3 separate regions of the Homo sapiens genome follow, and regions 2 and 3 are each linked to region 1. The links are contacts of gene promoters, found by promoter capture Hi-C in human tissues and cell types (Jung and others, 2019). All regions are on one chromosome and are shown on one strand. The core of a region is centred on a gene start or on the middle of the fragment in contact, and the rest is flanking DNA. Distances in the headings are between cores, read along the strand shown. Region 1 holds the start of ZBTB24 (zinc finger and BTB domain containing 24). Region 2 overlaps WASF1 (WASP family member 1). Region 3 overlaps METTL24 (methyltransferase like 24).

Region 1 (3,995 bases), core at 184-2,683:
GGGAAACCTCAGAGAAGGAGCATGTGTGGCTTGAGCTAGTTTTAATAAAATCTAGTAAAAATGTAAGAGCCAGGTTGCTAATTACACCTCCGGTTCAAGATCAGGGAGGCTATAGATGGCATGTTGGGAATCTGGAAATGGGCAGAAAAATAAGTAATTAGGTATTGGCTAAGAGAGAGAAAATGCTGAAATAAATGGATGGAAGCAGGTGGGGAGTAGATCTGGATGGGGCTTGTAGACCACATTAAGAAGCCTGGACTTTATCCAGAGGGCATGTGGGAGCCACATGGATTCTAAGCCAAGGAGTGACTCTAGTCTCTGGATCTCATATGTACTTGGAGAAATCCTCTGTACTTCTGCGAATTAAAGAGAACAACGCTGCAGCTGAGACCAGTTAGAAACAGTCTATTGAACAAAGATGATGAAAGTTTGAATAATAATGATCATTTTAATCACAGCAGACGAATTAAACCAGGCATTTCCTAAGCCCATTACATACTTAATTTTGTTTATGCAATAGCAACCCTACCAAAGTGGCACTAGTGTTAACATCTCCATTTTACAGGTAAGGTAAAGAAGTTGTGAGGGTAAGTAATTTGCCCAAGATCTCTCAGAACCCAGGTTTCTCTGACTGCAGTGCTCTCTTCATTCCCTTAGACTAAGGCATCAGGAGTGGGGAGGAAAAGGAGGCAGATGTGAAAAACATTTAGGAGGTAAGTAATAGTTATTATATTAGCACTAGATAATGACGATGGTGATGATGATGACAATGATGATGACGGTAAGGGGGATTTCATGCCTTTATACATTCAAGAACAACACCAGATTCGGTGTCGGAGAAGAGATAAAATTAAGGTATTGGCGTTGAGCTAACAGTTTAATACGATATAAAACTTCCCAAAGGGAGGGGTCACAACGCCTCTCCTGTCCATTGCCCCCAATTCACCGCAAAAGTCGCTCCTGCCTGGGCTCCCCGGCAGTGCCACACGCAGGACCTCGGGCGCCGACACCGCCCCGCCCCTGGCCGCGCCCCGCCCCGGCCACTGTCCCTCCTCCGAAGCCGCGCCCCTCCCCGCCCTGCCCCGGCCCCGGCCCCGGCCCCGGCCCCAAAGCCCCGGGCCTGCCATCTCGCCCCGCCCTGCCCCGCCCCGCCGCGGCTCCCCCGACCCCAGGCCTGCATTCTCGCCCCGCCTTGCCCCTCCCCTCCCCTGCCACGCCCCAACCCTTGAACTGCCTTCGCGCCCCGCCTTGCCCTGCCTTGCCCCGCCTTGCCCCGCCCCGCCCCGCCCCGCCATCTCGCCCCGCCCCGCCCCTCACCTCCCTTCCCCTCCCCGCCGCTCTCGTGGCCCCCACCTCCAGGGGCGCCTCTGCGGGCCACGTGGTTCGGCGTCCGCGCGCAAGCGGCTCTTGGCGCCGCGCTTCCGGGTTGGCTGTGGCTGTGGCTGCGGCGGCGGCGCAGGAGCAGAAACCGGTGCGGCGCAGAAGCCCCAGAGGCGGGCGGGGCGGAGCGGAGGGCCAGCGGGCCCCGGCGTGGGTCTCCCGCCAGGCCGCCGGGTGAGTTGGCAGCGACCCGGACCCCACCGGGCGCCCCTGAGCGGTAGGTCTGCCGCGCCGACCCCTCCCCCGCCGTGTGCTCCCCAGTCGGGCCCGCGGGGCCTGGGCGGGGAGGTGGGGGTCTTTCCGCGCCACCTCTCCCTGCTGGGACCACCCGGGGCTGCGGGGGGCTCCGCGCCGCCCCTAGTGTGTCTGGCGGCCCCACGCAGCTTAAGTTATTAGTATTTTATTGCAGCTACCTCACATTCACTTTGCACGTGCACATTTCTTCACTCTTCACATTGGTTCCCACATACGAAATGGCTAATAATCTGGGAGATGGAGGCAGCTTCGTTCTCCCTGAAATAGTTGTGCAACCATAGAAAGTTCGTGCTTGCGGAGGATTTTGGAGATGGTTAATCCCATTCCTTCATTTTATAGAAGGTAGACCCTGAACCGTTCCATGAATACTGGAGAGTCACTCAGCTAGTTAATGTGCGGCAGGAGGCTGAGGGAGAGAATTGCTTGAACCTGGGAGGCGGAGGTTGCAGTGAGCCGAGATTGCGCCACTGCACTCCAGCCTGGGCGATAGAGCGAGACTCCGTCTCAAAAAAAAAAAACCGCGAGCTAAGTTGTTTTGTTTTTGTTTTTTGAGGTGGTGGTCTCGTTCTGTCGCCCAGGCTGGAGTGCAGTGGCACGATCACGGCTCACGGCAACCTCGAACTCCCAGGCTCAGGTGATGCTCCTGCCGCAGCCTCCTGAGTAGCTGGGACCACAGGCGGGCGCCACCACGCCAGGCTAATTTTTGTATTTTTTGTATAGATGAATTCTCTCCATGTTGCCCAGGCTGGTCTCAAGTGATCCGTCGGCCTCGGCCTCCCAAAGTGCTGGGATTACAGGCGTGAGGCCACTGCGCCCGGGCCCAGAGCTAAGTTTGTAGACAGACAAAAATGGTAATGGTAAAATTCAGTTAATGATGTGAAGTGAATAGGAAGTTCATGTGGGCTGGCATTAACCTTTTAGACAGTGCTTTCTCCTTTTTAAACCTTGTTTTCTTATTTCAGATTTAACCCTTAGTGGCTTCTGAAGAAAATGGCAGAAACATCGCCAGAGCCTTCTGGGCAGCTTGTTGTACACTCAGACGCTCACAGTGACACTGTGCTGGCCAGTTTTGAGGATCAGAGGAAGAAAGGCTTCCTCTGTGACATTACTTTAATCGTGGAGAATGTACATTTCCGGGCCCACAAAGCCTTACTTGCTGCCAGTAGTGAATACTTCTCAATGATGTTTGCAGAAGAGGGGGAAATCGGCCAATCCATTTATATGCTGGAAGGCATGGTTGCAGACACCTTTGGTATCCTGCTGGAATTTATCTACACAGGTTATCTCCATGCCAGTGAGAAAAGTACAGAACAAATCCTGGCTACTGCTCAGTTCTTAAAAGTCTATGACCTGGTAAAGGCTTACACAGACTTCCAAAATAATCATAGCTCCCCAAAGCCAACAACTTTGAACACTGCTGGTGCCCCAGTGGTTGTTATCTCTAATAAGAAAAACGATCCTCCAAAGCGGAAACGGGGAAGACCAAAAAAAGTCAATACATTGCAGGAGGAGAAATCAGAACTGGCTGCAGAGGAAGAAATACAGTTAAGAGTGAACAATTCAGTTCAGAATAGACAAAACTTTGTGGTTAAAGGAGACAGTGGTGTACTGAATGAGCAAATTGCAGCAAAAGAAAAGGAAGAATCGGAGCCTACTTGTGAGCCAAGTAGAGAGGAGGAAATGCCAGTTGAAAAAGATGAGAACTATGATCCCAAGACCGAGGATGGCCAGGCAAGCCAGAGTCGATACAGCAAGCGGAGGATTTGGAGATCCGTCAAACTTAAAGATTACAAACTTGTTGGGGATCAAGAGGACCATGGTTCAGCCAAGAGGATCTGTGGAAGGAGAAAGCGCCCTGGAGGCCCTGAGGCCCGCTGTAAAGACTGTGGCAAGGTCTTTAAGTACAATCACTTTTTAGCAATCCACCAGAGGAGCCACACAGGTAATGATGTTTTCAAAGCTGATTGCAGTGTGTTGCAGAATTGGGAGTAGTGATGATAATAATAGCTTCCATTTACTGTGCAACTTCTGTGTGATGGGCATTGTAATAAAGCCTTTATACATGTTATTGCAGTTAATTTTCTCCACAATCCTGCAAGGTGGGTAATATCCTCATTATACATTGTATGATTAAAATCATATTTACTCATATGTAAGAGAGGGTTGCTAAAGTGCATAGTTTACAGATGAAGCAACCAAGTTCTAGGGAGCTTAAATAACTTGCCAGAGTCACCCGTTAGTGACAGAGCTGGGATTGAACCCAGGTAGCCTGGTTCAAGAACCCCTCTCATTTGTAGTTGTTGAATGAATCCTTTAATGTCCACTTATCAAGATCTAGCCCAATGTACCCTGCTTTCTGA
Region 2 (3,920 bases), core at 726-3,225, 690 kb before region 1:
AGTCAGGCCAATCACTTGAGCCCAGAAGTTTGACACCAGCCTGGGCAACACAGTGAAACCTTGTCTCTACAAAAAAATACAGAAATTAGCCAGGTGTGGTCACATGCACCTGTAGTCCCAGCTACTTGGGAGGCTGAGGTAGTAGGATCACTTGAGCCTGGGAGGCGGAGTTTGCAGTGAGCCAAGATTGCACCACTATACTCCGGTCTGAGTGATGGAAGGAACCTCTGTTTCACCCCCTCCACCCCCAAAAAATGTCCTCTCTTTTTCTGCTCTGACTTTAATTGAGCACTTTGTATGGTTTCCTTTTCTCTCCTCTCTTAGCATATCAATTATACTTCTTTCTCTTTAAAATGTTTTGTAAGTGGTTGTCCTAGTTTGCCTCTCTTTTTGTATGATTACCGAGGAGAAGTCCAATCTAATTTTTATCCTTGTCCCTCTATAGGTAAAGTGGTTTCTCTCTGTCTTTCAAAATTTTTCTTTGTCTTTGGTTTTCTGCAGTTTGAACATCACATGCCTAGGTGTAGATTTTCTGGTATTTATCGTGGTTGATGATCTCTGAGCTTCATGGATTTGCTGTTTGGTTTCTTAATTTTGGAAACATTTTGAGCACCTGTATATGCTAGGCATTGTACTAAATATCTTACGTATTTGATTTAATCCTCACAACAACCCTGTGAAGAAGTATGATTCTCATTATTTGTGGTGGAAACTAAGTTTTAAGTATAGACCACTACAGAATTTTTTTACAATAGTCACTAAAATTTAACTGCCTTGGGCTTACCCCTGACTTAAGCTTCCTCTAGATGTAATGAAAAAATGGGATTATTTTGATTTACTTGTTAGGTCGCAATACTGGAGGTGAGTGTTGGGGACTGATTTCAGAGTTCAAGTCATGTGCAGTGTATCAGATTTGTGTACCATCAAAGGAGTTGAATGAAAATGGCTGTATTGTGTCCTTTTGATGAGATGCAACTGTTTTACCAGCAATTTGCATACATTTGAAAGTTGACTGAACTGGTTAATGGAGAATCCAGTACTTTGCTTTAATTTAAAGATGATCTCAAATCCTAAGTGATTTGGTGCTGTTACTAGAAATAGAGAAGCCCAAAGAATAAGTTTCCTTTTTGGGGAGAGTGGGGAATGATGGATAATGAATTTGATTTTGGATATTTTGAATTTGAGTTAGTGAGATGTCCCTGTGGAGCTGTCTGGCAGACTGATAGCACAGGAGTATATATTGTCAGGACTGTTAGGGTTGATTGTTTAAGTTTGTGTAAGTAATTTAGAATTGATGGTTAAAGATCTAGCAGTGATGGATTTATGAAGAGGAGAAAGTGTAGAACTAGGTATAACAAAACTGTTGATGCCTAACATTTAGTGGAAAGAAAAAGGAGAGACAGAAGAGGATGCTGAAGTTGTGATCAAAGGATATAATGTGTTGCATTCTTAATATGACTGTTCTGTTGGGACAGGGGATAAGGCCTTGTGGTCTGGCCAGATCTCTGAAGAGGAATGTGAGATGCTAGTGAGTAGGAAGGGAAGCAAAGCAAAAGTGTGTTGATGGTTTTGAAAGTAGAGGAGAATGACAGGATTGCAGGAACTTGGTAAGGACAAAGTTGTTTTATAATAATGAGGCAATGAATGGATAGGGTAGAATATTCATGTCAGAAAGAGACACTTCGGAGATGGAGATCTCATAGGCAGAACTATTAAAAAAGTCTGTGCACAGACACTTGATGTGCTTAGTAGTAGAAGGAAAGGTGCTACTCCTCAGGACTGGAAGTACTGGCAGTGGAGTACTCGAGAGAGATGGGGTCCAGTTTTAAAAGCCTTGCTCTTGTCTATATACTTCTAACAGTTGCTCTAGGCTTGGCAAGTAGTAAAGCCACATCATTTGAAGTGGGAATCTTGGAGGGATGAAGGTGGTTATGTATTGCTGCTGATTCCTGTATTTTAAAATGTATTCTTCTTGCTTGCAAAAGCAAGTCTTTTTCATTGTGATAGAGGCAGTGCACAACTGCATGCCTCATATACAGTAGTGTTAACATCATAAAAATCACCATTTTCACTATCACAGAAGGAAATGAAATAGAGCATGTCTTTCAGAGGATTTGTACATACAGAACTTAATTTCATTCATTAGCATTAAAAATAAAATGTAAATTTTTTGGTAATGCTATACTAAGTACAGAAAGATGACATTAATGACTTCTTATCAGTTAAACATGAATTTCAATATGTATTTCATATAGTAGGGATGGATTTATGAGTTCCTCAACAATTTTAATTAAATTCACTCGTTATTAACTGTTATGTGAGAGGTCATGTTAGGACCAGAAAGTGTGGTGAAAATAGTATTTATTTTACTATTCTAATTAAATATTCTTTGAGGTATAAGAGATAATTGTTATAAAAGGGCTTTTGGAAAAAGTCTATATTAACATAAGATGCTACTGTTAAATTTTAAGGCTAGGGAACTAGGACCGTAGACAAAATCATGATTTACGTTTTTCATTAAATACTCAGTGTGGTATGTAAATGTTTCCAATGTAATCAGTGACTAGAATAAACAAATATTTGTTTTGGTTATCATCAATTTAGCTTTATTATTTTGAATTTTAAGTGACTATACCAATCATATTGAACTTAAACTACAGAAAGATGGTGATGATTTATTGAAAATTAAGTCACTTATTTTTAATTATGTTGTTTCTATTTGAATTTGTTTTTTATTTGTAGCTGCCTCACCGAATATTAGTAGAATTATCTATGGTTGACCTTATTTGAGGGTTATAGTGAAACATGTAAGTTATAGATGTATCTCATCTTAAGAAAACATAATATGAATGAGATTACTAATGAAGTGAGCTTAGATAAAAATAAGAGAAAAGGTACCAGGACTAAGTCCTGGAGTCCTCAAAGAATTAGAGGTACAGAAGTTAAAGAAAAGGATGCACTAGCAAAGGAGACTGAGAAACACACACCTTATCCTAGGCCTACGCAGGGTCAGAATAATTGATATCACTGTCTTCTACCTCCACATCTTGTCCCACTGGAAGGTCTTCAGAGGCAGTAACAAGCATGGAGCTGTCATCTCCTATGATAACAATGCCTTCTGGAATACCTCCTGAAAGAGCTGCCTGAGGCTCTTTCTAACTTTGAAAAAAAAAATAAGTAGAAGGAGTACAGTGTAAAATAATGATAAAAAGTATAGGATAGTAGATACATAAACCAGTAATATAGTAGTTTATTATTATCAAGTATTATGTAACTATACTTTTATGTAACTGGCGGCACAGTAGGGTTTTTTTTTCCAGTATCACCACAAATATGTGAGTAATGCTTTGCATTATGTATGATGTCTACATTGTGTATGATGGCTAACACTGCATGATGGCTACAGTGTTACTAGGTGATAGGAATTTTTTTTAGTTCCCTTAGAACCTTATGTGACTACCAACATATATGTGGTCCATCACTGACTGAAACTCATGACTGCAACTCCAGTTATATTAAGATAGCATAGCCCTTTATCCTTGGAAGATTCTGCTTTAAGAAATACTTTAAAATTTTTTTCACACAAAAAAATAAACATTTTTGAGTTTTGTGTGTTATATGCCAGGCTTTATGCTAATCATTGTATCTTATTTGATCCTCATAAACAGCCAGCCAAAGAAGGCAGGACTAGCCACAGAGGGACGGAGAAGTTAAGATTCTTTGCACAGTTTGTAAATGGCAGAGCCAAGATTCAAACCCATCTGATCTGTGGTCAGACTCTGTACTCCTAACTGCTATTTTGTCTACCTTTAACTGCTATTTTATCTACTCTGCTTTTAAATTTTACAGATTAAATACAACTAGCAATATTTTTGCTTGAGGACACAGTAAATAAAAAATTCTCATCCATTGCTAGAGTA
Region 3 (3,791 bases), core at 889-3,388, 840 kb before region 1:
ACCTGACCATGAGTGCCTCTTGGGAGAGCCTGGGTTTTAGTCATATCTCTATTTACCAGTGCCTGGCACAGAGTGGCTAAGGCTCAATAAATATTGTTTGACCAAATGGTAATCAACATCGAATTCAGAGAAGGAAAAAAGAAATGAGGGTGTGGGAGGCATTAACTGGAAAGATGTATGACTTAATGTTCTCCAGCTCTCTTACTAGAGTCTCTGCCTGCTCAGCCTGCACAGAACAAGAAGAGCTACAAGAAAAGGCTGTTCTTTCAGAAGGTGTCCCTCAGGGAAGACTGGCTACATGATTCGTGGGCCCAGTATAAAATGAAATGCAGGGCCTTTTGTTCAAAAATTTTTAAGAATTTTGACTGACTCTAGGCACACTGCCTGTGAGTTAGCCCTGCTCTGCAAGGAGCAGTAATAAAAAAAATAATAAAATTACTAAGAATTTCGAGACAGCATCAGCAGAGCATTAAACTGAGCATGGCCTCCTAAGACTGCACAGGTTGCATGCCCATACAGCTGGCCCTGCCCTATGGGTTCCTGAAAAAAGAGGCAGTCTGCGGGAAACCAGGGAGGCCTCCTTCAATCTAGAGGGACTGCGTGAGGCTCAGCCCCCACAAGGGTAGTACAGGCTGTGGGGATGTGAGACTGTGGGCTCTACAGGGATTCTGCAATGATGTGTGTCTAATAATGCCAAAACTGAATAACCCTTGATCACTTCCAAAGCGCTGGTATTGATCTCAGACGCCCAAGTGAGAATGGATTCCTCTTCCCCAAACCCAGACCGTCTGGCTTCACATAGACTAACCTTGTTCCCCACTACTTTCCTGTTTTCTATGTAACCCCGAGTCACCTAGGCCACCCCATCTAGGGGCAACAAACCACATTTGTACTAAAGCATCTCACGGCTGGCCTGTCTAGATGTTTCTTTCTTGGGTGCTGAGAGTTCCCACCACAGTACCTGACTGGAGAACACTGTGTATATGTGAATGATCCCTTTATCTTGCCCCCAGAACCCTCCCCTGCCTACTTCCTCACCATATAAAAAGGGGTTTAGGGGCCCATTCTCACTACACTGCAGGAAACCTATGCTATGACGCCCAAAGCCTTTCCTGGCACTAGACATTGACCCCGCCAGCTGCTGGAGCTCTCCCTTCCCCCAGCCCTTCCCTACCCTGCACGAGCCGTCCCCACCCCTGGGAATTGCAGCAAACCTCCTGGAGGTCTCTTGGTGTTGACAACTATAGGTGGGAGTTTTGAGCTCTAATAAGGATTTCCTGACTAGTGCCCCCTTTTTACTGGAGGGGCTACCATTTTTGTTTCCTCCAGACCATTGCATTCCCCCAACCCTTCATCCACCCATCCTTGCTACAAAAGGGGGCTGAGCGGGTCATCCTTAACCACTCTGTTCTTGGGAGCACCTCGTAACCTCTGCTAACAGGTGGTGGCTGCCTCACAGTGCTAGAAAGCCACCCTCCCCAGCCCTGGTGATGACAGTTCTGGGGTCCTCGCTCTGCCTGTGCAGGGTCCCAGCAGCCAAGGGCCGTGGTCCCATCTCCCTGCACTGAGGAAGATAAACAAATGCCCAGAACAAAGACAAGCCCCCAGCATTATGGTGCTTTGTTTAGAGAGGCACATATTCTTGAAGCTCTAAGCTTTGGGAGACTGTCGTCGATAAGGGAGTTTCTTTTCCCGGAGGAGCACAGCCTCATATAAAATAAGCTGCAGTTAAGGGAGAGCCCAATGGGGTCAAGTGGAGTTTGCCTTTGATCATACATGCAGAGTCAGACAGTCCTGGGGCCTTTGCATTCTCCTGCAAATTCCCCAACCTGGGAGTTGTGCTGTCTCCGGCCTCATTTGTCTCCCTGCGACTGATGTGGCCTTAATGACAGCAGCTCGCAAAGAGCCTCCTGCTGCCTGTGTGCATATGTGTGTGTTTTGCTGACAGCCAAAGCAGCCTTGCTTCCTCTCTGATACTGTGTCCTTCTCCTCCCACCCAGTTCCTCTTCCTTACACACAACCTATGTTTTCTGTCTCTTGCAGGGTCCCCGGTGGCATATAGATCTCCAGCCTTGGGCAGGCTCTGCTCAGTCCCTGGATGAAGAAGCCTGGAGGTTCCTGAGATATATCAGCACCACCCAGGTTGTGTTTCAGGCTCAAAGAAGTTAGAGAAGAATGTGAAAGATCCTGATTGCCTCTTTTGAAAGAAGGAGGTGGGGGAGGTTCTCAGCGACTCCTGATGAGGACTTGATGGGGAAGTGTGTTCAGAGGCATTGTTGCTTAAACTCATCCACTCACTTGGAGGCAGATAAGATACCTTCCATTTGCTAGGGCATGTTCCTTCCTCCAAGAGTGTCACCAACCTGAAATGTTTAAATGATTCATCCCAAAGTGTTTTAAAGATCCACTTTAGAAAATTGCTTTGGAAAACCATTTGAAATGACAGATTGGTCCCCGTGAGTAGGCAGTCGAGTATGTCACAAAACAAAACCATCATCTAGAGGTTCAAGCACCATTTTGTATTTGGAGGAACTTGCCTTTCCACTCTTCTGTCACAGATGCTTGGCAGCCAGGGATGTGCTAGGCAAGAGAGCAGAGGAGGCTTTGCAGGCAGTGTGCTGAGGAGTTAATGAATCCAAAGGCTCTCTATCTCAGAGCACTTGAAATCATTACTGAGCACGGGCCTTTATTAGTGACTTAACACATTGTGGTAGTTCCTGCCCAGCTCCAGGCTGAGCCAGTGCCCCGAGCAGGCAAAGAGACTGTCCATTAAGACAGTCTATGGCTCTTGACATGTTAATCAGAAGGTTCCATTCTCAAGTTGCCTGATCCCAGGGGGAAAGAGAGACAGAAAAGGAAATCAAGGCCCAAGGGAAATTTAGCCCTGAACTGAGAGGTGCTAGCAAATTAGCAGCTCAGACTGCCTGTGAGCTGCACAGAGGCCCACTCAGGAAGCTGCACAGTGGAGCTGGTGCTGCACGGGGGATCCTGGATTTTTAGAATCTCCCTCAAGCCCACTCTTGACATCCCTGTTCTCCTCCCCAGCCTCTCTGGCAGCAAAGCGCTTTTCCTCCGTAGGAGAGAATATATTTCCAGATCTTTAGGAGGTTAGTTAGTTTAGGGGTAAAAGAAAGTCTCATTTATCATATAATGCAGTGAGACAATCATAGGAATTTTAGTATTTGTCACCCAAACATGGACGTAAAAGCTTGTTGAATTAATCATGAGTGATGGGCTGTTGAATTAGTCCCTGTGCTTCTCATGATTTTATCTTATTTTGCTGCTGCAAATTAATTTGATGGACTTAGGCAGACTTAATTAAAATACTGAAATTTTAGTTTTGTAGTTTGATTTTACATGAACGATAAGAATCTGGACCTTTTAACTGTGATTTTCAAAAGCCCTTAAAGGCTCCAGAAGAAAATAAGAGGTTTTAATTTTATGAATCGGATTTGAGAACTATGGGCTTCACTCGCCAAAATAAATTTATGTAATGCAAGCTACCAAATTCCATTCTATATGTATTTCATGTTAATGTTCCATAACTTATAAAAGGCATGTTTGCTTAGAAGAAGCTATTGAGGCATGAAATGGTCATTTTTAGATCTCTCTTGGATCTTTCCCAGAAACTATGGGCTGAGAGGAGAAAATTTTTCTTTTCTTTTCTTTTCTTTTTTCAGAGACAGAGTCTCCCTCTGTTACCCAGGCTGGAGTTCAGTGGCACAATCTCAGCTCACTACAACCTCTGCCTCCCAGGTTCAAGTGGTTCTCCTGCCTCAGCCTCCCGAGTA

What was found. Contacts are between HindIII fragments. The study calls those that stand out against the background at their distance.
Region 2: a fragment that was not itself captured here is called in contact with the fragment with the promoter of ZBTB24 in region 1 in 1 of the 25 tissues and cell types used here (hippocampus).
Region 3: a fragment that was not itself captured here is called in contact with the fragment with the promoter of ZBTB24 in region 1 in 1 of the 25 tissues and cell types used here (H1 embryonic stem cells).

The regions. Positions count from the first base shown.
Region 1 is chr6:109,480,657-109,484,651 of GRCh38, reverse strand. It overlaps ZBTB24 (zinc finger and BTB domain containing 24), which reads left to right and starts at 1,433. Exons shown (of 7, transcript NM_014797.3): 1 at 1,433-1,554; 2 at 2,598-3,577. The coding sequence starts at 2,626. It overlaps ZBTB24-DT (ZBTB24 divergent transcript), which reads right to left and starts at 1,008. Exons shown (of 4, transcript NR_187591.1): 1 at 1-1,008. RefSeq lists silencers at 933-1,372, 1,453-1,742 and an enhancer at 3,441-3,942. The HindIII fragment of the contact is 15,822 bases long and covers 1-3,995 here.
Region 2 is chr6:110,166,555-110,170,474 of GRCh38, reverse strand. The region is part of intron 2 of WASF1 (WASP family member 1); the gene reads left to right. Among named protein-coding and RNA genes, the nearest start is that of WASF1, 11 kb to the left of the region's middle. The HindIII fragment of the contact is 5,875 bases long and covers 1-3,920 here.
Region 3 is chr6:110,321,125-110,324,915 of GRCh38, reverse strand. It overlaps METTL24 (methyltransferase like 24), which reads left to right. Exons shown (of 5, transcript NM_001123364.3): 2 at 2,044-2,142. Among named protein-coding and RNA genes, the nearest start is that of METTL24, 35 kb to the left of the region's middle. RefSeq lists an enhancer at 1,469-2,076. The HindIII fragment of the contact is 6,552 bases long and covers 1-3,791 here.